Linked DNA regions of Homo sapiens: all the other regions are linked to region 1. The links are contacts of gene promoters, found by promoter capture Hi-C in blood cells and fetal thymus (Javierre and others, 2016). All regions are on one chromosome and are shown on one strand. The core of a region is centred on a gene start or on the middle of the fragment in contact, and the rest is flanking DNA. Distances in the headings are between cores, read along the strand shown. Region 1 holds the start of MED31 (mediator complex subunit 31). Region 2 overlaps NLRP1 (NLR family pyrin domain containing 1). Region 3 holds the start of KRABD2 (KRAB domain containing 2). Region 4 holds the start of LOC101928044 (zinc finger CCHC domain-containing protein 9-like). Region 5 holds the start of DHX33-DT (DHX33 divergent transcript). Region 6 holds the start of C1QBP (complement C1q binding protein). Region 7 overlaps NDEL1 (nudE neurodevelopment protein 1 like 1).

Region 1 (3,229 bases), core at 664-3,163:
GTGTTCTGATTTATATTTTTAAAAGATTAAGCTGGTTTCTGTGTAGAAAGCTGTTTTGCTTGGTTTGGGTTGGGGTGGAGATGGGGGCAGGAAGGTAAAAGTGGAAGCACAGATAACCAGGGAGTAGATTACTGCAGTGTTACAAGTTAGAGATGAGGGTGTCTTGTATTAAGACGGTGATAACAAAAAGAAGTGGAGAGATTCCAAATACATTTTTGCCAATGTGAAACTAAGAAATCTATTATATAATAAAGTATACACATGCTTAGGATTATAAAAATTAAACTTACTTTAGATACTTGGCATATTCTGGGTCTTTCCAGTAAAGCAAGTATTTAAGATAATTAACAAAAGCTTTGTCTTTGAAGTAACCTCTTTGGGCAAGAACTGAAAAGCATTAAAAAAAAAAATCTGTAGGTCAAACCAATCCTTAAACTGTGATTTGTTACCCCTAATATAAAGGATCTATTTACATAACACCCCCACCACCAACACACATTGGATTCAAAACACAAGTCCCAGTACGCAATTATATCTATATACCAGCATAAGTGTAATGTCATTCAACTGAGAATGTGTAAAAGTAGATACTATTTTGAACTGCAACTCTTCTGTCAGAAATCATTAATAGCTACTCAATTTAATGAGGTGCTTAACAACTTACAATTAAGGTAATTTGGGTTGGCTAAACATTGCACAAATTCCAACTCCAACTGAAACCGAAGTCGATTTCCAGCATCATCTAGGAGACAAGACAGCAAAAATCATGGAAAACAAAGGTCACTGTATATAATACTGATTTGTAGTAAGGAAAGAGCAATAAAGAAACCTGACTAATGTTGAGATGGTCTTCCTAAACTAGGAGTGGGAGGAGATAAACCTTCCTTCGAAATCTAAGAAAAGCGGAGCCCTGATTAAAAGGAGTAAGTTAGAAGTTTCTCTAAAGTTAAAGAGAAATCATCAAAGAAAACAGCAACACAAACGGAGAATTCCTACCACTCGTGGGCCACTATGTAGGAATTTTAACAGTGATCACTAAGGTAGGCTGTAATAACTGTGGCTTCCCCTATTTTAATAATGCGTTGTAACAACTGTTAACAGTGATTAAGTTTCGCAAACGCTAGGGGCTGAATCAGTAAAGAAAAACTTAGGATGCAAGAGACTGCGGAGAGCCTAAAAGATCATGCAGCGCATGCATATAAGAAGCACCAGGGTCAGGAGATCGAGACCATCCTGGCTAACACAGTGAAACCCCGTCTCTACTAAAAATACAAAAAAAATTAGCCGGGAGCGGTGGCGGGCTCCTGTAGTCCCAGCTACTTGAGAGGCTGAGGCAGGAGAATGGCGTGAACCCAGGAGGCGGAGCTTGCAGTGAGCCGAGATCGCGCCACTGCACCCCAGCCTGGGCGACAGAGCCAGACGCTGTCTCAAAAAAAAAAAAAAAAAGAAGCACCAGTAGCAGAATGATACACAAGTCTGGCGACGATATTTCAAACTTAGGCAAGCTCATGTGAGAAGCAGAAAACCAATCAAGGAGGACACGGTTTAACACACAAGTCCTCTCCCTTAGTCTCACCCACGCCAGGGAGCTGGTGGGGTGGTGTCTGAATAGCAAAGATGTGCGAACAAACCAAATCAGGAAAACTGCAAAGAGTACCTTAGTCTTTCTAGACGCTACAAGAGCCTTCTCTCCTCTCTGTCCAAATATTAACCCTGCCAAGAGTAAGGCCTGGAAGGAGGCCACGGGGAAGAGGTCTGGGTCAAGGAGAGTTCCATCTGCGAAGACTCCAAGATCAGAGAGCTACTCACCTGTCTCCATAGCGACAGCAGCGGCCATAACAAACGAAGACACCAAAACGCCACCAGCCTGACAGAGCAAAAGCCCAGAGACGCGGGCGAAGTTCCGGAAACCACGGCTCCCTCTTCCGGTCCCGGGGCACTGTGGGATATGGGGCGGGGCGGCTCCGCCCATCCCCGACCAGCCCTGGGATGGCTCCACCCGCGCTGGCTCCAAAATAGCGAGGGGGCGGGGCCCGGGCCGTGGGAGCGCCTGAGGGGCAGGAGTCCAGTGTTTTAGCCTTCGAAGGACCATGGTGCTTCCACGTCATCGTGTTGTGGCGCTCCCGGCTATGGCAGTACCGTAGTTTTCCTCTCTTCTGCCTGCGGTGACCATTGGGCTGTAGGGTGCCCCGAGGCCTCCCTGGCCCCCTCACGCCGGCAGAATGGCCTCAGCCCGAGGGGCCAAGCAGTCTTCGCCCCGGGTGGGGACCACCCGCTACACAGAGACGTCCACGGTCCGCGTGGAGACCTCGTCCCACCGCGTGGAGACGTCGTCCCGGCGGGTGGAGACCTCCCAGCGCCGCAGCGAGGGGCCCTCCCTCTCCCCCTCGGGGAAGCGGCTCCCTCGCATCCTCGAGGCGTCCTCCCGGCACGTGGAATCCTCCTCGCAGCGCACGGAAACGACCTCCCGCCACGTCAGAGCCTCGTCCCTGAGGGTGGAGACGTCTCTGCACTGCGCGGAGAGCCCGACCCCGCGGGCCAAGCCGGCCGCCCGCCAGAACGAAAAAACGGCCCGATGAGATGCTGCTTCCCAAAGGCCACCAAGGGGCCAGGGCCCTCAGCCAGGACAGAAAGGCCTCCAGTTGCCAGCCAGCCAGCCAGCTGCCAGGTGGACCAATCATTTTCGGTTTCATGGAAACAAACCATAAATCAATGTAAGAAACAGCCAAGCCGCAGTTTCTGAACACAGCCAACGTTTACTGACCGTCCTGCGTCTTGGACCAGCCTACTTTTGACCCAGTGAACTATTTTCACTTGAAGCCAGCACAGAAGGTTTTCAGGCCCAGGATGCTGTCTAAATCGGGTTGATGGACAAAGAGAGGCTGTTTGAGCCTCTGAGCCAGGTGAGTTTGGGATCCACAGCCCTCAGAAAACCTTCACCCCTTAGGAACAGAGACCAAACTGAAATAATGACCTGTGGAATGATTCCATGCCTGCTAAAAACTCGAGGGACAAGGAACAGACTCATAAATTATTAATTGGCCTTTGTTTATGTTTCAAAGTAAATGGTCGTTTTCTTTATGCTAAGTCTTTGTACCTGGCACCCCCATCCATACACTTTTTTAAGGTAGGTTAGATGTGGTTAAAAATGACAGTAAACCCACCAGCAAGCAAAAATAATCTTAGAAAGTGAGAGGAGGTCACTGAAACCTGGCCTGAGGTTTGAAGA
Region 2 (3,328 bases), core at 152-2,651, 1.1 Mb before region 1:
TAGGGGGGCTGCCTGATCCTTGGGGAGTGTGGGGGTAGCTAAGGTCAGCAGGAAGGTGGGAGCACGTCCAGGAGAGAAGATGGACGGTCATTCTAAGGGTAGGAGGAGAGGTGGCAGACACGGCAGGGCCCAGTGGCCTCTCCAGAAGCAAGCAGGGCCTGCCCCACAGCCGGGCACTGCAGAGGAGCTTAGGTAGACAGAGCATGGTGGTCAGATTGGGCAGTTAGAAGTCACTGGAGACCCTGATCCTTTAGCCACCCCCACCCCCGGCCAGGCTCAGTGAGCATGCCTCTGGTGCTCAGGTCACTCGGGCTTATGGACTGACAGAGGAGCTGCAGACATGGGTGGTTTGGGTACTCACAGGACTACCATGGTGGGGCTCCATGTTGATCTGTGCTGCCTGCCCTCAATCAGCTGAAGCTTCTTCACGTGGCGGCTGAATTTAATGCAGAAAGTGCACACTAAGAGCTCCATGTCTGTTTCTACACACATGCCCATTTCTTCGAAATGGGCCATCACTTGTGTCAGGAACGTTTTGTTCCGAGTCTCGTACAAGCAGTGGAGGGACTCCAGAGAGTGTGGCTGCAGCAGCAGCTGCAGGGACGGGACCCACTGCATCAGGTTCCTCCCCTGAGACAGCCGGCAGTGAAAGATGTTCTCCATCTCTCTCTCCCCCTCATCACTTAACAGGCCCAATAGGAAACGTGTGGTTGATGCCCCAAACAGGCCATGTATTCCATATGCTTCTAGCGTCTTTTCCAAATCTATGATGCAATTAGAATGTTTACCTCTCCCCTTCTCATCCTCCAAGACATAGGACATTGCTGCAAAGAACTCTTGGAAACAGAGGTGAATGAAGCTGTAGCTCAGAGGGATGGGGTGCTCTTGAAGAATACCCATCTTCAAGAAGGTGGAGATGATGGCCCCATCTAACCCATGCTTCCTGAGGTCATCTGGACTGAAAAGGGTCTTTTTTTGCCAGATGCCCTCAGCAGCCAGAGAGCAGAGGTCTCTGAGCTGGGGTCCCAATGGCTGAGCTTGGAGAGCCTGGGCAAGGTAATGTAGACAGAGGGTTGTGGTGGTCTTGGAAGTCAGTGTGAGTTTTTCCTTCCGCTTCATCTGCTGCATCAGGCAAGTGCAGGCCAGCCAGGACACCCAGGGCACAAGACACAGGGCCCAGAGCTCTTTGTTTGATTTGACCAACCTAAAGGCTCTAATTGCTTGCCTTTCATCTGTGAAATATCTGTAGAAATATTCCTTCCTGCTGGACTCAGAGAACCCCAGGACCTCTACCCAACGTGCCTGCTCCAAAGAAGGAATGAGGTTCTGCAGAGCTGTGGTCCGAGCCGTGATCAGGAAGGATGCCTCGGGAAGTATAGTTTTCCCCAGCAAACTGCCCAGCAGTGCATCCGCCGGCTGTGGCTGGCTCCAGTGCAGACAGAGCTCAGAACTCGGCTCCTGCAAGACCCATCCTGGCTCATCTACACCATCGAGGATGAAGAGCAGCCGCTCTGGCCTAGACAGGATCTGTCTAATGGGAGCCGGAGTGGCTGTCCCATCTTTTCCGATGAGCTCAGCGAGACTCACCACCTTGGACTGGGCCAGCTCTCTGCAGCTGAAGTAGAAGACATGCTGGAAGCGGTCCCCATACAGCTGGCCTCTCCCCCAGGCTTCCTTCACCTGCCTGGCCAGTGTTGACTTCCCAATTCCAGCAGCCCCCTGCAGTATGACTATGCGAGGTTCTTGGGTATCCAGGCCTGGGCCAAATAAGTCTCTGATCTCAATTAAATGTCCTCGATTCTCCTCCACATAATCAGGCCAGCTTCTCTTGACCAGGGGATCTTGGCTTCTGGGGTGAGGTCTTTGTAGAAGTAGCAGCTGTGTGAATTTTTGGTTAAAATCCTCATTTTTCCAGGGCCATGTGGAACAGAGGCTCTCTCTCACAGAAGGCTCCCATGGGTGGTGGTGGGGCTGTAGGCTGGTGTGCGCCTGTGGGGGCGTTCCTACCACCGCTGCCCATGGGGGCCTGCCTTTCTCTGATTTCTCTCTCTCTCTTTCTCTGATTTCTAAGTAAGGGAGGGAAAGAAGGAACATAAAGGTAGAGAATAGAAGAATTAATTAATTAATTAAACAACTGTTTTAGGCACCTACTCCAAGCCACACACTGCGCTGTCTGCAGACACTGGTATGTTCTTGCCATGCGGCGGAAGGACATGTGCTTTGGGGTAGAATATCCCAGTTCAAGTCTTGACTCAACTAAGTCACACTCCCTGAATGACTTTCCTTCACTGAATATTTATCAAGGGCTTACTCTGTGCCAGGTGCTGCTATAGGGGTTGGGGATAAAGAGTGAACAAAACAGACACAACTCTCAGTCCTCACTAAGCTTATGATGCTGGCCATTAGCCCCTATGAGCCTCAGTTTTCTCATCTGTAAGCTGGGGGTTGTAGGTCATGGAGGACTGGAGGAGACACTGGAGTGTGTAGCAGATGCTGACAGCATCCCAAGCACCTGCTATTGCAGTACCTGCCAATGGTGTCCCTCGGCAACAGCTGTGGTCATCTGTCTGAGGGCTCTTTCTCTGCCTGTAAGCCGGGTGGGCCAGAAATACTGGAGGATAGTTCTCCAGTCCAGGAGGTGCCCTTAGTGGATGACAGGTGGGGTCCCTTGCCCCCAGGACAGATAACACTCAGGCATGTTCTCACCGTCTCCCAGACAACCGCAGCAGCATGGAGCCTCAGTTGCTCACAAGGTAACCTGTTCCATAATCTACCTTTCCTGGGTTTCCCCGCCTCACCATTCTCTCTTGTTGATGAGTCCAAGAAATCACCTCCCCAGTAAGCCACCTGCAACCAAATCCGGTCTCAGGCTTCCGGGCGAGCCCGACCTGAGACTGATGGAAGATACCTCATGACCTGTGAGAAGCTGAGGTTATATACACCATTGTTTCCCAGGGAGGGACCTCAGGCTCCTATCTTAGTCAGATTCCAAATAGAACAACAGTTACAACCTCTTCTGTTCTTTTCTTCACAATATGTTCAGTGCCTCTCCCTTCTCTCCTTAGGTGAATTTCATTTTATTTTATTTATTTTTTTGAGGCAGAGTTTCTCTCTTGTCACCCAGGCTGGAGTGCAGTGGCACGATCTCGGCTCACCGCAACCTCCGCCTCCCAGGGTCAAGCGATTCTCCTGCCTCAGCCCCCAGAGTAGCTGGGATTATAAGTACCCGCCATCACGCCAGCTAATTTTTGTATTTTTGTAGAGATGGGGTTTCACCATGTTGGCCATGCTGGTCTCAAACTCCTGACCTCACGTGATCTGCCCGCCT
Region 3 (3,289 bases), core at 541-3,040, 1.7 Mb after region 1:
TTGTCACCCAGGCTAGAGTACAGTGGCATGATCACGGCTCCCAGGGTCAAGGCATCCTCCTACCGCAGCCTCCCAAGTAGCTGGGACTACAGGCATGCGTCACCAGACCCAGCTAATTTTTTCTTTTCTTTCTTTTTTTTTTTTTTTTGTAGAGACGGGGTCTCATTATGTTGCCCGAGGCTTCAGTATCTTTTCCAAAGCAACATGAAAGAAATGTGACCGTAAATCAATCAGCTTCTTGGTGTGATCTATGTGACGGCTAGGTGATAAACGAGTTGGTCAGAGAAAACTGGAAATATTTCCAAAGCCATGTTTACTCCCTTCACCCACCTGTGAGTCTTCGCCTTGGCTGTTTCCGACTCGGAATGTCCTCGCATTGATCCTCCCAATCACAGCCAGCTGAAACCAGCCTCCTTCCTGACGTATTCAGTAACTTTAGCTGATTGCCATCTCTCCTTCATCTCAACAACCTGTACCACACTCACTGGAGCACTTCGCTTTGCATCTTTAGTCGACCAGTTCAGATATATACAACCTATAAGGTAGGGACGGAGGCTTCTACCTGCCTGTACCCCCTTTGGAGGGCCCACGAATACAGAGCTGAGCACAAAAGATGTTTAAAGGACATTTTGTCAAAAATGTCGCTTACAGGTAGGTCGTTATTAGCAAGGTAGAGCAGCGGTACGGCCGAGTCTACGCTTGGGAATTCATTTGCTGACTCTTATCATTTACTGACTAAAGCAAAGTTACTGAGGCCTCAGTTTCCTCATCTACAACCCGGGGAGATGACCAGTACCCATCACAATCGATTGCTATGAAGATTCAATGATAATGCAGATAAGGCACTTAATACAGTGTCCCCTCACCGTCCACACCACACGGGCACGCCCGCTTATTCCTGAGGACCGGGCTGGGATGTCGCCTCCTTTGTGTAGCCTTCCTACCCTGACTTCGCAGACTGCTCCCACCGCCTGGATCCATGCCCGTCCACCCGCCAGCTCAGGGCTGAACGGCTGAGGCGGGCGCGCGGTGGAGAAAAGAGCTGCAGACTGAGGAAGGTCAGGAAGGAGAAAGGGACACACCAGACGCGGCGTCTGAATCCCCCTCCACCCAGAGGCCCCCGAGCAGCAACTCCGCCCCACCTCCCGCCCGCTCCGCCGGAAGCCGGTCAGCGCCAGCCGGAAGCCCCGCCCCCTAGAGGCACCGCGGACACCGTGCAGCGCTGTTCACCCAGATGCCAGCTGTGACCTTGGCTAAGCCAGTGACTTAACTCGGGCCCGTTCCCCATTCCCACGTTGTTGCCAAGTCTCCAGCCTGGAAAGTAAACGGGCTTCAGGTGTCCTGTTTAGATGCTTAAAATGAGGAACGGCAGGAGCACACACACTGCTGCCACCTCACACCTTTTCACTTCATCCTGACGAAGCTGCAGTTTAGTTTATATTTTAACTCAAAGACGTGTTAGGTTTTGGTTTGATGGCACTCATCCAGCACTTGTGCAGAAAACAAGGTAAAGGGGGCCCATGGGTCTATCAGATAACCTGAACCCGAGACCTCTCAATCTGGAGGAACAGCTTGAAGAAGTCATCTAGAAGCTATAAAGTCACAGAAGCTTCTTATCCTATTGAAAGCAAGACTTCCTATCCAATGGCAATACAAACTTTTACGCAGTAAGGTAAAAAATATAGCCTGTCCATATAGCAACCTATCCATAGTAAGCAAGTTAAAAGACAGGTTCAAGAGGAAGTGTTTCCAACTAGCTTTTCTTGTAGGCCTTCTTCTTCTCAATGACACCCCTCCAGCTTCTGATATATCCTCAAATGCTGCTGCCCACTATAAAAAAAATCTCATCAGTCCTGATTTCAGAAAAATTTTAGACCAACAAATCAGAGGTAAGAGACTGATCCACTGAAAACTAGGGAGTGTCCTAAATCACCACACACAAAACACAGGCTCTTTGTTTCAAGTTTTAATCAAAGCTTGTATATAAGATTACTTTATTCCTGCATCTTCTCAATGGTTTCTTCCTTGTATTTGCCCTTTTCCTTTCCTACTTGGCGAGATTTGGCTTTCCGTTCGAGGATCTTTTTGCGGTCTTTGTCCAGTTTTAGCCTAGTGATAACCACCTGCAGAAAAATAAGAAAAAAACACTCCCAAGCTTTAAATAATCACTAAAACACAAGGGAAAGCCCAACATTCAATACCATTTCCCAAACCTGGGGTAGGTGGATGCCTAATAAGAAAAGATTTTAACTTTTAAAAAACTCCAGAAATCACTCTTTAGCCATCAAACCTGGCTTATTTACTAATTTCCTACCAACAAAGGAGAAAAGGCAAGATGGTATCAGTAATTCTTAAAGCCTCTTCTGTGCTTCATTATAAGATTTGTTTCTTTTTCACTGAGAAATATATGATTCTGCTCTTCTCACTACAGTTTTACAAGCTGTCATATACAAATATATTTGTTTCCAAAGTAACTTCAGGCTGGGTGCGGTGGTTCATGCCCCCAATCCCAGCACTTTGGGAGGCAGAGGCAGGCGGATCACCTGAGGTCAGGAGTTTGAGACCAGTCTGGCCAACACGGTGAAACCCCTTCTCTACTAAAAATACAAAAATTAGCTGGGTATGGTGGCACATGCCTGTAATCCCAGCTACCTGGGAGGCTGAGGCAGGAGAATCTCTGGAACCCTGGGGGGGCGGAGGCTGCAGTGAGCTGAGATGGTGCTATTATTGCACTCCAGCCTGGGCGATCAATCGAGACTCCATCTCAAAAAACAAACAAGTAACAAAACAGCAGGGTGTGGTGAATGCCTACTCAGGAGGCTACTGCGGGAGAATCGCTTGAACCCAGGAAGCAGAGGTTGCAGTGAGCTGAGATCGCACCATTGCACTTCCAGGCTGGGCGACAAGAGCAAAACTCTGTCCAAAACAAAAAAAACCCCACCCCCAAACAGAAAAATAATAAAGTAACTTCAGAATTTTAATGCTAGAAATTAAAGGTAGCATCCACACATAATTCCACCTGCAAAATCTTTAGTGAGAAGATGACAATACGATCTTACTCCAACAGTTCCAATCCTAAAAGACATCCAAATTATGATAAATTTTAGTCTTATGAATGCGAGGAAAGGGTGAAAAGAGGTGCTGGAAATACAGCATGCAGACCAAACAAAAATCTCCACAGTCACTGAACTCATATTCTAGTATAGGGAGCCCGAAAACATTTACAAGTGAATCTACATCACTTTGATAGAGTAAGAAGGCAAGTGTGAGGAGGCCGAGGGGCTTTCTA
Region 4 (3,095 bases), core at 320-2,819, 1.1 Mb before region 1:
CCTCCCACGTACAAGCAATTCTGCTGCCTCAGCCTCCCGAGTAGCTGGGGTTACAGGCACCTGCCATCATGCCCAGCTAATTTTTGTATTTTTGTAGAGACAGAGTTTCACCATGTTGGCCAGGCTGGTCTTGAACTCTTAAACTCTTAACCTCAGGTGATCCGTCCGCCTTGACATCCCAAAGTGCTAGGATTACAGGCATGAGCCACTGCATCTGGCCAAAAAAATGAAAAAAAATTTTTTTTTTTAAGAGACGGGGTCTTGCTATGTTGCCCAGGCTGGTCTTGAACTCCTGGTCTCAAACTCCTGGTCTCAATAGATCTTCAGGCCTTCGCCTCTCAAAGTGCTGGGATTACAGACATGGGTGCGTATTTCGTATCTCCTTGCCACTAGAATATAAATTGCTTGAGAATAGATACTCTGGCCTCTGTTATCACTGGCACCTACAACAGCCTCAGGCTCAAAGAAGCTAAGATTTACTGTCTGCCTAGTGTTGTGTACCAGCTCGCCCAGAACAACTTCCCACTCATGAGCTCACCTAGTCAAACAACCGTTTGACGCAAGCTTTGCTATTCCCTTCTTACACATCTGAAAACCTGTTTCAAGATCACACATCTAATGGGTGGTAGAGCCAAGAATTTGATTCCCAGCTCACTGCCTGTCCCTCAGAATTCTAGCTGTTGCTATTAGAATCCAGATCCAGGCCGGGCACGGTGGCTCACACTTGTAATCCCAGCACTTTAGGAGGCCGAGGCGGGCGGATCACTTGATGCCAGGAGTTCGAGACCAGCCTGGCCAACATGGTGAAACCCCGTCTCTACTAAAAATACAAAAATTTATCCGGGTGTGGTGGTGGGCGCCTGTAATCCCAGCTACTCGGGAGGCTGAGGCAGGAGAATCGTTTGAACCCGGGAGGTGGAGGTTGCAGTGAGTGCAGTGAGCTGAGATTGCGCCACTGCACTCCAGCCTGGGCGACAGAGCGAGCCTCCGTCTAAAAAAAAAAAAGAGAATCTGGATCCAAAGCGGACATGCATGTGTGTCTCCCCCATCCCCACACACTTGTTTGTGTCTGGCCTTTCTCCTACTCCAAGACTGGCTCCACTTCGGGGCTCGCTGCCATGGAGACGACTCCAGATTTAGGAATACATTTCCTAGGCTTCCGGCAACTAACGTGAGGACTTGCTGGGATGAGGGACGGGGAGGTCTGCAGAAGGAGGCGGGGCATGCGGGGGTTGCGGGGCTTAGAGGGTTGGCGGAGCCCCTCCTCGCGTAGGTCCTTCCTTCTTTCCCTCCCTCCCTTTCTCTTTTCTTTTTCTTTCTCTTTCTCTTTCTTCTTTCTTTCTCTTTCCTTTCTCTCTTTCCTTCCTTCCTTCCTCTTTTTCTTCATTCCTTCCTCTTCCTCTTTCTCTTCCTTTTTCTTTCTCTCTCTTCTTTCTTCTTTCTCTCTGTTGAAAATTGTTTTTGACCACACCCAGATCATACTGATATTTACAGTATAGTCCTGGCTACAAGGGAGCCCAGCTGTAACTTGTGAAGTGGGCCTGGTTTAGAAAGTAACAATGAGGTGGTAACTAATGACAGTACTAGTTGTTATCAAAAATTAACACCTTTAGGTATTTTTGTTTTGGGTTTTTGTGGTTTTGGTGCATCCACAATGTCTTCATAGTCTGCACTTATTCCCTTTGCCCACAGACCAACTGTGGCCATTCGATCTGAATTCTCACTTTCAGGGCAATCTTTCTTTAAATGTTCCACAGAGCCATGAAGTTGGCAACCACTACCATCAGCATAGAGTCCTTTGGGATTATCAGGACAAGATCTAGACAGGTGCCCCATTTCTCCACAGACAAAACATTCTGCAAAAGGACATTCGCCAAGAGGCGGGTCTACTTTAGCCTTACACTTGGTTATTTCGTGATCTGTGGACCCACACTTGTAACATCTTCTAGTGCCCATATCTTGATTTTCAAGGGCGGCAGGGCAATCCGCAATTCCACGACCAGGTTTTCTACAATGGAAACACACCATTGCATTTTTCTTTGCCCCTTGTCTTTTAAATCTTCTTACTTCCCATTGACTGTCCTCTTGGAGGAAGGGTTGTGTGGAGAGTGGAGGTCTGCATGTGGTAAAGGAGATGGGTGGGTGGGGCGTGAAGGACCCGAAAGACAAGGCCAGTCTCATGGGTGTGTGACCTGTGCGGTCACACAGAGCCCTGAGCTCAGCAGGGCCTGGCGCTTGATTTCATGTTCTGTTGTCACCGTCTTGACATTCTTATCATTTTTGAACGAGGGGCCCTGTGTTTCCATTTTGCACTGGGTCCCACAACTGCTGGAGCTGGTCCTACAGGAGGGTGAAAATTAGCATATAATGAGCAGTGAGGACAACCAGGAGTCCCTTTCATTGCCATCTTGGCTTTGGTGGGCTTTGGCCAGCTTCTTTACCGCATCTTATCAGTGGAGTCTTTGTGACCTGCATCTTGTGAAGCCAGTCCTGCCCACCTCCTGTGTCACCCCCAGCTTAGAGATCTGCATACAGTAAAATTACTACTAGCTTTCTCCTGAGGCCCTGCAAGCTAAAGCTTATACCTTGTGATACAGGCGTGTCAGATTGCCACCACTTTCCTGCTTTATAACTAAAGATGCTTTTGAGTCTAATACCTGGATAGACTGTGTCCAGCATTAACCTTTTTTTCTTCTGTTCTCATAAAAATCTCTCTTATTAAAAATCTGTTTGGCTTTGTATTTCAGACAACAGAAGACTAGTTTTCCAGCCTATTCACTTAGATTCCAAATGGCATCTGATCTCTTATTTTTTTCTTTCTTATTTTTTTAAAGAGACAAAGTCTATGTTGCCCGGGCTAGTCTCAAAAGCCTGAGCTCAAGTGATCCTCCTGCCTTGGCCTCCCAAAGTGTTAAGATTACATGCATGAGCCACCATGCTTGGCTTTGATCTCTTCTTTAAAACTGGGCTTAAGTATTTTATGAATTATCACTAGGTGCTATTTGATTTTAAAAATATTTGTTATATTCATCAGGTGTTCGGACGGTTCAAGTTTATGTCTTCCAGGCTACAACAGTTTCAGAGAAAAATAATTA
Region 5 (3,396 bases), core at 866-3,365, 1.2 Mb before region 1:
AGTGCAAGGAAGAGCCCGCCGGCGCGGCCACTCACCGATGAGGACCGCGTTGTCCAGGTTTCGGAGCTGGGCCAACAGTTGCCCCCGCGCTTGGAAGATGGGCAGACTCCGGCGCTGCAGCTCCACAGCTTCAGGGTAGGGACTGGCCGAGGGCTGGGCCAGGGGCGGCTGCTGCCTCCGGCCTCCTCCTCCTCCTCTGCCGCCGCTGCCCGCAGTCAGCAGCATCACCACTTGCCTCCCGGGAGGGAAGGACCCAGCGCGGCTCGGAGGTCCAGAGCCTGGCCGGAATCTCTTGGCCGGCGGGAAGCCCGCCTCCTCCGGCATGTCGGGAGGGCACCGCGGCGGGAGGCGCAAGCGCCGAGAGCTCCTGCCCCCTCTCAGGTGCAGACAACAGGAGCACACCGCCCCTTCCTCGCCGCCACGTGCTGGCGGCTCCCGGCGACCACCGATGACCTCACGGCCGCCCCAGTCTTTAGAAAAAGGGACTGCATCTCCCAGCATGCCTTGGGGGCTTGGGAAGGCTTTCACTTCCTGGGGGTGGGAAAAGCAGGGCCTGAGGTACAACCAGGAAAAGGCCCGGAGCTACAACCGGGAAACACAGGATGTAAGGTTCCGTGGGACTGTAGTCTTGGTTAACGAGGTTTTTCTCATTGTTTTATTTTTTTTTTTTGAGATGGAGTTTCGCTCTTGTTGCCCAGGCTGGAGTGCAATGGCGCGATCTCGGCTCACACTGCAACCTCCGCCTCCTGGGTTCAAGCGATTCTCCTGCCTCAGCCTCCCAAGTAGCTGGGGTTACAGGCGTGCGCCACCGGGGCCCGTCTAATTTTGTATTTTTAGTAGAGACAGGGTTTCTCCATGTTGGTCAGGCTGGTCTTGAACTCCCGACCTCAGGTGATCCGCCTGCCTCGGCCTCCCAAAGTGCTGGGATTATAGGCGTGAGCCACCGCGCCCCGCCCATTGTTTTGTTCTAGTAGCATTACTTCTTTTCAGTAAACCCGCGTTTTCCCCTTCTCTGTCCAAATAACAGTCACTCTTCAAGGAAAGTACTTAATTCTGTAAAATCAATGAGAAGCGCAAACGTGCATTGTCTAATCCTCTAAACAACTTATAAGTTATGTGGTATATACTGGTTATTAGATTATCTCTAATTTACAGATTAAGAAATTGAGTCATCTTAGTCATTCAGATGTCCCCAAATCATAATTTTGTGATCATCTTGTGTTACAGAAAGGAAAACCAATTCTGATATACATGAATTTAACTCAGAAAATGACTCCTCCAACGGATGTGGTCGCCTCCAGTAATACAAGCAGAGAAAGGAGGGAGTTCAATGAAATTAAAATTGTCTTTTATCTTTCCTTTCCCCCAACCATTCCAGCCAGACTCTCAAGTTCTCTACATGGCTGTGCAACCCCATCACAGACACTTCAGTGAAGATTCAGAACTGCAGCAGAAAAAAGTAGGATTATAACTAGTTCTTCCTTACCCTCCTAAAAGTTCTTAGATGATTTGCTAATTTACCACGGAGAATGCCAAGTAGCTGTTTGCTCTTACAGGAAATGTGATTTCCAGAGAATACACCGTAAGCTTCAGCTCATGTGAAGGGTATCTTCTGAAGCTCGTTTCCATGAAACTCGCCCTGTTAAATATCTCCCTTCCCGTGATTCGTGAGAGAGCTAGTCTAAAAACAAAAAACCTCCCCTTTGCTCCAGGTCGGAGATAATTTTCCTCTAGTTGCTGACAGTTTGGTGACCAGGCATTACTGAAAATGTGCACGTTGAACCAGCAGCAGATTTGTGTTTAAGAATAAACTGACAAATTTTCACTTCCTACCCTGAAATATTTAGAAAGGCAACCCAAAACTACAAGGGATAATAAATGTTAACTCTCAAATTATGGACTTTGAGTAAAGACATCCCAGTCCTTTTTCCCAGTGTGCTTTCCAGAGTAACTTAAGGTAGGAGTCCGATGTTCCAAATGATTACAATAATTTAGGTAATGTAAATGGGTGGACTTATTTCTTGATGGAGCACATTCCACCTCTACATGCAGCCCCTAATCATTTCTAGGCAATGGCTGTCATGTAGACCTATTATTGCCAGATCTTCCAATTTTCTCAAGAAAAGCCAAAAGTGAAGATTTTTATCTGTCAATGTTAAATACAGGTTTAAACTTAAAAAAAAAAAAAGTACTGTCAAAACAAAGCACATAGGTAGGTAACAAATCTGTAGGTAACTCATCCATAATCTCTGGCCTAATGATCCAGCTATTCTATAGCCTCAAAGCTAAGAGGACCAAAGAGTGGAAAAATTAAGTCCTATATATGCATCAAGCCATGCTGCTCACATTTCTCCCATTGGTAGACTGAAATCTGCTGTTTCTCCTGAAGAAGTCTCTTGGGGTTCACCAGCTTTCATATGTAGATACTGACAAGCTAATAACTATTCAGAGAATATCCTGGTTCTTCCTTCAAACGACGAAGTGTCAGACACATTTCATTTTTAACTTGTCTGGGATGGTCTGTGGACTTAACTGGTCTGATCACGACCATAACAGCTGGTGGTCACCTTTGCTTTTCCGACCACCAAATTACTGCCCTTGATCATGTTCAGTTTCCCTCTATCCCACTTTCAGAGACAACCACAAGCTTCAGCAACTAGGCTCAAGCTTGCATGCATACACTTTAATCCCTCTATAATTAAAAATACCAGATAATACTTTGCTGATCAATAAACAAAGGTATTTATTCAGCACCCATGTGCCAAGCACTGTGCTAGGCACTGTGGTGGATACAAAAATTAAGACATGGTCCCTGCCCTTAAGGAGCTTACATTCTCATGAGGGAGACAAGACTAATATACATGTACCAGCTAGGAACAGTACAAGACAATATATAATTTGGCGTTAAGAATGTCATACAGACTTGAAGCTTTATAGGGATTCAGAGACAGACAATAAAATAGGCCTTAGAGTCAAGATTTTTTGAGGAATCAGGAACAAGGCCAGGCCTTGAAGAACTGAAGAGACTTAAGTTGAGGTCCCTGTTAGGTAGAAGTGGGAGTAAAGTTAAGAAAAAAACAAGTATGCATATAATGTAGGGGCTTACTAAGAAGTCACTGTGGATTTCTGAGCAGAGGAGTGACTTGATCATACAAGATTCAACAATTTTATTGCAAACTCATAAAATATGTTTAAGTAGCCTGGAGACATCCTACAGAACACAGAAAATAATGGCAGGATCATGACTAACAACATAGCTGGAACTCACCTGTCAAAGAAAAACAGCTACAACATAAAACACTGGCAGGATAGATGACAATAGTTCTAGGAAGCCCATTACTCAACATGGCAATAGCTCCAATGCTTCCTTATTTTCAGAGGCCCCAGAGACTGAGG
Region 6 (3,491 bases), core at 204-2,703, 1.2 Mb before region 1:
TTTAGGAGATGATGGGGGAGCTGACTTAGGTCACAAACTCCCCACCTCTGATGGCAGCCCTTACTACAGTGTAACCCCATCCTGTTACATAGAAGTTACATATTTTTCATTTTCACCCATACTAAACATTAGAGAGCAGTGTCCTATTTTATCAGGGCTGTAAATCAGAGATCAAACTGATTCTGCCAGTACTTTTTTGCACTACATTTTTGTCTCCTTAGTAACCAGCCCACAGCAAATTTGTGTTCGGTGAATGGACTGCCTGGGGCTTACGAAGTTGTCCAAATGAATCCTTCACTCTCTTGAAACCCATTTATCAAAGTATCCACACCTGAACTCAAGGCTCTTCTGGGGATGACCCAGGATGGGTCCTGCAAGGTTAAGGGAGTTGCTGCCCTGGGATCCCCAGACCAGTACTTACTTTTCCCCGGCAACTTTCCGCACTAATTTCGCTTCTGTCCCATTCAGTTCCAGCTCCCAACCTCCAGACATCTTAGGGAGGGTTTTATGCTTCTGAATTTTTCTTTCCTCCTTAATTTCATCACTCAGGAAATCAACAAAAGCTTTGTCTCCTAGAAAAGAAATCCAGATACATAAAAAGGAAAGCCAGTTAGTCTAAAACATAAAACTATTACCCAGGTTATTGCAGCCAGAAACCTGGACTGTTTCTAATCTCTCTGCTATTACGGTTACTCTAGAAGCCTGTTTCCTTATCGGTAAAAATACCATAATAGTAGTAGGAAGCTGAGCCTGATTCTGGAAAAGTGATTTCCAACAATGAACGCATTACCACTTTCCGCTATAAACCAGGAGAATTTCCAATCCTCTTCCACTTGCCAAACGATATAACTATGCTATTTTCAACCACGACCATGGGCCTTCCCAAAGGTCCACTTTCGATAGAATAAGACTAAGGAAAAAGGTACCCTAGTATTTAATTTTATTCACCCCCTACCAAAAGAAAACGAAACTGCTGGATAGGGGAGGTGGGGGAAATATGATCATACGTGGGTTTAGCCCGCTGGTTGCCAATCAATGGAAAAATGTCCCAGACCTCAGAGGTCGGTTGCAGGCCCTATTCCTGGTCTACGTTTTCCCTCTGTTGAACGCAAACCACACCCCCGGCCCGCTAAACCTCACCGTCGGTGTGCAGCGAGCCGCAGCCACAGCCACAGGCGCAGGGTCCGCGAGGCCGCAGGAGGCCCGGCCGCCGCTCGGAACCTGCGCGCACGCTGAGCAGCCCGAAGGGCCGGGTGCACAGCCGGGGTGCCGGCTGCAGGAGCTGCCGGAAAGGCGAGGCGGGCGCGGCAGCGCGGAGGCCGGCGACGGAGGAGCCCAGCACACGGGGCACGCAGCGCAGCAGAGGCAGCATCGCGGAAACGACTGCGAACACGTGCAGATGCAAAGGACAACCCAGGCCTAGGCGCCCCGCGACCTGAGGCGCCGCCGGAAGCCCCGCCCCTGCCCGGAAGCGCTTCCCGCGCCGGCGCTCTGACGACCTAAGGCCAGCGGGCGGAATCGCGCCCTCTGCTGGAGACTCCGGTGCAGCCCGGGAAGCCTCGAATCCGGATTCCGGAGCTTTCTTGCTGCGCTGCCGAGTCCGCTGTCCGAAGCTGTTTAATTCCCTCTAGTGGCCGCTTACCCACTTTCCACCTGCTGTTCTCAAAGCACGCAAGGCTTTTGGGCTGCGTGGAATGCACTCTTGTCTCCCGCCAGCTCTCACCAGACCCTTCCACGGTCACTTTCCTCTAGGAGGCTGTGGTGTTATGATATATATATGTATTGGTTTTCATCCACAGTTCCTGGGTCGTAACTCCTATAGCCCTTGTTACAATGTTCTGTGATAATGTTGGGTGTGTTAGGCCTCAGGAAACAGACTCTCCCCTTCTCCTGCCCTCCTTTTACCTGCCCCAAAGCAGGACTCTAATCTCCTTCCACATTTCTGATTATGGGTCTTAAGTCCCTTCCCAGAGAAGGTCCCACCATATACCCTGGGGGAAGGGATGCTGATGTCCAGAAGCTTCCATAAAAACCCAAGAGGAGAGGGTTTGCAGAGCCTCTGACAGCTGAATACGTAGAGGTTCCTGGAGGGTGGTGGCCCAGGGTAGGCAAGGAACCTCGGAGCTTCTTCCCCATTCCCCACCCTGCTCATCTCATCTGTATCCTTGGTCATATCCTTTATATGAAACCGGTGAATGTGTTTCCCTGAGTTCTGTGAACTGCTCCAGTGAGTTAACATAATCCAAAGAGGGGGGTCGTGGGAACCCCAACTTGAAGCGGGTTGGTCGGAAGTTTCAGAGGCCCAGACTTGCCATTGCTGTCTGAAGGTGGGGGCGGTCTTGGGGACTGAGCCCTCAACCTATGGGATCTGACACTATCTCCAGGTAGATACTGTTGGGATTGAATTGGAGGACACCCAGCTGGTGTCTGCTGCTTAGTGTGGAGGGGAAAAACCCAAACCTTTGGCCACATAAGTCTTCTGTGTTGATTGTTGTGTTGTGAGAGCAAAGGAAAGTCTGAGGGTTTTCCTGAAAGAGGCCTTCTAGAACCTTTTTTTCCACCGGCTCGGAACTCATGCTTGTGCGCACCCAGCCCATATGCTTCATTCTCTTTTCAACAGGAACCTCCTAGCGTTGCTGCTTTAACCAGGTTAAACCCAACCAGACTGTGACATCCTCAAGGGCAGGATCCATGATTAATTTTTGTGACCTTCCCTCTCTGCACCTCCAACCTTGCATCCAAGTTCTAATGGAACATCATTTTTCTGGGGACAAGAAGCCAGCTTATATCATTTAGATAAGTCCAGAGGCTTCCATAAAAACCCGAGGACAGGGTTTGGAGAGCCTCTGATAGCTAAATACATGGAGGTTCCTGGAGGGTGGTGGTCCAGGGACGGCATGGAGGCTGGGAGCTTCTTCCCCATTCCCCACCCTGCTCATCTCCTTATCTGTATCCTTGGTCATATCTTTTGTATGAAACCGGTAAATGTGTTTCCCTGAGTTCTGTGAGTTTCTCCAGTAAATTAATATAACCCAAAGACAGGGTTCAGATTTATTAAAAATCAACAATCCTACCTTCCCAGGATATACAGGACATATAAGCTACTAAGAAGGTATGTCTTACTAACTCATGGTAAGACTAACACTTAATATTTTCTAAATAATTTTCTATGAATAATGGAAAAGAGATGCAAGAAACAAGCCACACACATCATATACAAGATTCATTTTTAATGGATTTGATCGTCGGGTGCAAATTTGAGCATTATTTACAAGAGCTTTCTGTAGAGTTATTTCTGTTCAAATAAAACCAGACTCTCAAAATACAACATAAGCCTGAACCTACTTGATTTTTTTTTCTCCCTCTAGTTACCAAGGAATATCGTATCTCAGATGCATGGCCTACTATCACACTGGTCTTTAAAGAAAAAAAAAAATGCATGGCCACAGTTCCAGGCAGTTCCTGGTAGCTGGATTTAGTGGATTTATATA
Region 7 (3,064 bases), core at 8-2,507, 1.8 Mb after region 1:
GGTGAGCCTGCAGCGCGGGGCCGCTCCCTAAGGGGCTGCGCTGGGCCGGCGGCGCCGAGGCCTGCCCTTGGGGAGCCTTCCCGGCCCGGGGCCGTGTCTGAGGCTCCGCCGGGGCGGGCCGGGCCGGGTTCCGGGGCGGCCAGCCTGGGGGCAACTGTTCCAACCGCTCTAACTGTCCCCTCCCTTCCCTGGTCCGATGTGTGGCCCCCCAGGGGCGCCTGCAAGGGAACGATTCCGGTGGCCTCCGGAAGATGTGCCCCGTTCCGGGTAGGGTGAGGGCTGGCGGTGACGGAGGCCGGGACGTGGCACCGTGGGCTGGGGCGCTGGCGGCGCAAGGAGTGGCCCAGTCGGAGGTGGCAGCGGCGCGCCCAGCCCGCCTCCTCCTACCCCCTCTTCGAAATTCCTTCATTTGCGAGGGTGGCTTGGAGCGGGGTTGCATTTTGATCTCTCAGTGCCTCTCTCCCATGGGGGGCGAGAGCGCGAGCAGCCCACGTTGGGCTCGGATTGGCATTCTCCTGACTCCCGCCCGGAACTGCTAATCATCCTCCCCCTGGAGTTCGGCAAAGTGTCACCAACGGGCTCGGGTTACTTGTGCTCGACTCTTTTCTTGCTGTAAGCCATGAGATGACCCTTTAAGTTTTGCAAAGGAGGTGAGAGTTCTGTCACCACTGATTATTACCTTCTATTTACGTAGCACCTTTACACGTTTCAGAGCACTCTTCTTCCTATCTTTTTCTAACCGCATCACCTTGTGGTTGCAACTGATTATGTTATCGCCATTTCGATGGGTAAATGGAGCTGGGATGGGGGTAATTATTTATACTTAGGTTCAACCAACTGGTGAGTGGTTTAGCTTGGATCATAATTTACATTTCTAGGCTCGGAGTTCTGGTTTCTTTTCGTGGGATTTTTATACCCTTCTCAGCTACAAAACAAGGCAGAAAATGTGACTTGCCAAAGATATGCCAGAAGCTGGTAGATTACTTACTCAATTATTTTTGAGAAAACTCACCTAGGATAAAAACGGCTGCTCAGTCATGAGAAAAATCTTCCTGTGAAGCTTGTTCAGGAGTTGCTGGTTAATTGCTTTGCTAAATCGTGAAGTTGATGGGCACAGTGCAGCGTTAAGTCATGGGCTGAAGAGAAGTAAAGGGAAACCAAGTGAAGTATTTCTTCTGAATTATTATTAAAATTATTGTTATTTAAAATTAGAGTGCGTGAGAAACAAAACCTTTGGCCAGCCCTGGTTAGAGGTTGACTTGATCCAGATAGAAGTTGCTAAATCTTCTGAAGCTGTAGTTCTTTTGATTTTTTTAAATTAAATAAATTGAAGTTGGATAAAGAGCTTAAAATAAGTAGGAACCTTAGTAAAACTTAGATCTTGCTTTCATGACATCTGCAAAACAACTTATTTTTGTTTTCATTTTAAACCATGCTGGGATAAATTTGGTTACTAAAGCTTAAAATTACTTCTGACGTAAGTTTCTGAGCACTCCATAAAGTAAAAAAGAAGTCTGATAGAATCAAAGAGAGACCGTGTTTATGATCAACTTTGAAGAGTTAAAAATTCTGTAAATGTCACCTTTGAGAGTAGTAGAATTTCAGTAAAAAGGCATATATTGCCAACAGTGAGTTCTGAAAGAACTCTTCTAACGTCAGTCCATTTTAGAACTGTTAACCAGAAACAATATCATTGAAAATAGATTTTCTTACCATTGTACAAAGAATAATTTCCTTGTAAATAAAAGGCATTTTGGACAGGCTGTTTTAAACTCAAATGAGTTGATTGTTGCTAGATTTCTGAAGGTCATACACAGTATGATAATGCTTTACGTAAAAATTGTCATGCTTTTGAGACTGTGTCCGTATTGAGATCTGGTATTAAAGAAAGATGGGGTGGGGGCGGGCAGAGAATAATAATTTTTTTTTTCTTTGATGGAGTCTCCCTCTGTTGCCCAGGCTGGAGTGCAGTGGCACAATCTCGGCTCACTGCAACCTCCACCTCCTGGATTCAAGCGATTCTCCTGCCTCAGCCTCCTGAGTAGCTGGGATTACAGGTGCGCACCACGATGCCCTGCTAATTTTTGTATATTTAGTAGAGACAGGGTTTCACCATGTTGGTCAGGCTGGTCTCGAACTCCTCACCTCGTGATCCGCCTGCCTCAGCCTCACAAAGTGCTGGGATTACAGGCGTGAGCCACCGTGCCCTGCCAATAATACATAATTATCTATCTTCATTCTAGCTTCAGAAAATTGTGGATGTACCATTAGAGCATTGTTTTAGCAGTATGTTTTCTATATTAGCTAACTTTCTATAGCCTGAATATCTCCAGTTACATAGTTTGAAATAAGTGAACACATCCTCCCAGTGTAACTTGAAGCAAACTGAACAGACTGTATAACAGCCCCTGAAACTGTCGTTTGAGTATCTGCAGTGGTAGCAAATTTTATTATTTGTAAATAATCTGATTTTTATTTTTATTTTTTTGGAGGCAGGGTCTCATTTTGTCACCCAGGCTGGAGTGCAGTGGAGTGATTACAGCTTACTGCAGCCTCAACTTCCTGGACTCAAGCGATCCTCCCACCACAGTCTCACGAGTAGCTGGGACCACAGGTGCATGCCACCACACCCAGCTCATTTTTGTATTTTTGTTAGAGATGGGGTTTCAGCATGTTGTCCAGGCTGGCCTTGAAGTTCCAGGCTCAACTGACATTCCCACCTCAGCCTTCCAAGTGCTGGGATTAATATGCGCGAGCCACTGTGCCTGGCCAGAATCTGATTTTTAAAAAGAGTAAATCTGATGGGTAAAAGTAGGGCAATAGAGCTGGATAATACCAGTTAGGAAGCAATAAAGATGAGGTGTGACCACAAAGTAAGAAGTTTTTGCTTTGTTCTTTTTTTTTTTTTTTGAAACGGAGTCTCTCTCTGTCACCCAGGCTGGAGTGGAGTGCGGTCGCGCGCTCTCGGCTCACTGCAAGTTCTGCCTCCCGGGTTCACGCCATTCTCCTGCCTCAGCCTCCCGAGTAGCTGGGACTGCAGGTGCCCACCACCACGCCCAGCTAG

What was found. Contacts are between HindIII fragments. The CHiCAGO score rates a contact against its expected background, and 5 or more counts as called.
Region 2: a contact is called between a fragment that was not itself captured here and the fragment with the promoter of MED31 in region 1, in 2 of 17 cell types (naive CD8 T cells and M0 macrophages). The highest score is 6.1, in naive CD8 T cells.
Region 3: a contact is called between a fragment that was not itself captured here and the fragment with the promoter of MED31 in region 1, in 1 of 17 cell types (non-activated CD4 T cells). The highest score is 5.0, in non-activated CD4 T cells.
Region 4: a contact is called between a fragment that was not itself captured here and the fragment with the promoter of MED31 in region 1, in 1 of 17 cell types (total CD4 T cells). The highest score is 5.3, in total CD4 T cells.
Region 5: a fragment that was not itself captured here is called in contact with the fragment with the promoter of MED31 in region 1 in 4 of 17 cell types (erythroblasts, naive CD4 T cells, activated CD4 T cells and 1 more); the score reaches 9.4 in erythroblasts.
Region 6: a contact is called between the fragment with the promoter of C1QBP here and the fragment with the promoter of MED31 in region 1, in 3 of 17 cell types (erythroblasts, M2 macrophages and M0 macrophages). The highest score is 7.2, in erythroblasts.
Region 7: a contact is called between a fragment that was not itself captured here and the fragment with the promoter of MED31 in region 1, in 1 of 17 cell types (activated CD4 T cells). The highest score is 6.0, in activated CD4 T cells.

The regions. Positions count from the first base shown.
Region 1 is chr17:6,649,692-6,652,920 of GRCh38, forward strand. MED31 (mediator complex subunit 31) reads right to left here and starts at 1,914. Exons shown (of 4, transcript NM_016060.3): 1 at 1,810-1,914; 2 at 665-742; 3 at 291-387. The coding sequence starts at 1,837. C17orf100 (chromosome 17 open reading frame 100) reads left to right here and starts at 2,071. Exons shown (of 1, transcript NM_001105520.2): 1 at 2,071-3,229. The coding sequence starts at 2,223. The coding sequence ends at 2,579. RefSeq lists enhancers at 1,329-1,388, 1,479-1,558, 1,629-1,758 and silencers at 2,009-2,088, 2,389-2,438. The HindIII fragment of the contact is 11,591 bases long and covers 353-3,229 here.
Region 2 is chr17:5,557,978-5,561,305 of GRCh38, forward strand. NLRP1 (NLR family pyrin domain containing 1) reads right to left here. Exons shown (of 17, transcript NM_033004.4): 4 at 362-2,066. Among named protein-coding and RNA genes, the nearest start is that of NLRP1, 25 kb to the right of the region's middle. The HindIII fragment of the contact is 1,966 bases long and covers 419-2,384 here.
Region 3 is chr17:8,375,570-8,378,858 of GRCh38, forward strand. KRABD2 (KRAB domain containing 2) reads right to left here and starts at 1,135. Exons shown (of 2, transcript NM_001304947.3): 1 at 331-1,135. RPL26 (ribosomal protein L26) reads right to left here. Exons shown (of 4, transcript NM_000987.5): 4 at 1,947-2,123. The coding sequence ends at 1,995. RefSeq lists an enhancer at 774-1,325 and a silencer at 1,070-1,269. The HindIII fragment of the contact is 367 bases long and covers 1,608-1,974 here.
Region 4 is chr17:5,510,447-5,513,541 of GRCh38, forward strand. LOC101928044 (zinc finger CCHC domain-containing protein 9-like) reads right to left here and starts at 2,280. Exons shown (of 1, transcript XM_047437231.1): 1 at 1,506-2,280. The coding sequence starts at 2,181. The coding sequence ends at 1,594. It also overlaps a transcript of NLRP1 not described here. The HindIII fragment of the contact is 2,014 bases long and covers 563-2,576 here.
Region 5 is chr17:5,468,536-5,471,931 of GRCh38, forward strand. DERL2 (derlin 2) reads right to left here. Exons shown (of 7, transcript NM_016041.5): 7 at 2,719-3,396. It overlaps DHX33-DT (DHX33 divergent transcript), which reads left to right and starts at 557. Exons shown (of 3, transcript NR_135644.1): 1 at 557-604; 2 at 1,379-1,459; 3 at 1,557-1,825. DHX33 (DEAH-box helicase 33) reads right to left here and starts at 447. Exons shown (of 12, transcript NM_020162.4): 1 at 36-447. The coding sequence starts at 324. RefSeq lists enhancers at 1-81, 1-90, 471-540. The HindIII fragment of the contact is 1,060 bases long and covers 1,586-2,645 here.
Region 6 is chr17:5,437,702-5,441,192 of GRCh38, forward strand. C1QBP (complement C1q binding protein) reads right to left here and starts at 1,454. Exons shown (of 6, transcript NM_001212.4): 1 at 1,141-1,454; 2 at 422-572. The coding sequence starts at 1,372. It overlaps DHX33 (DEAH-box helicase 33), which reads right to left. Exons shown (of 12, transcript NM_020162.4): 12 at 3,216-3,491. RefSeq lists silencers at 1,121-1,170, 1,281-1,450, 1,429-1,611 and an enhancer at 1,671-1,850. The HindIII fragment of the contact is 1,457 bases long and covers 562-2,018 here.
Region 7 is chr17:8,436,045-8,439,108 of GRCh38, forward strand. NDEL1 (nudE neurodevelopment protein 1 like 1) reads left to right here. Exons shown (of 9, transcript NM_030808.5): 1 at 1. Among named protein-coding and RNA genes, the nearest start is that of NDEL1, 1.7 kb to the left of the region's middle. RefSeq lists silencers at 1-113, 154-393. The HindIII fragment of the contact is 399 bases long and covers 1,059-1,457 here.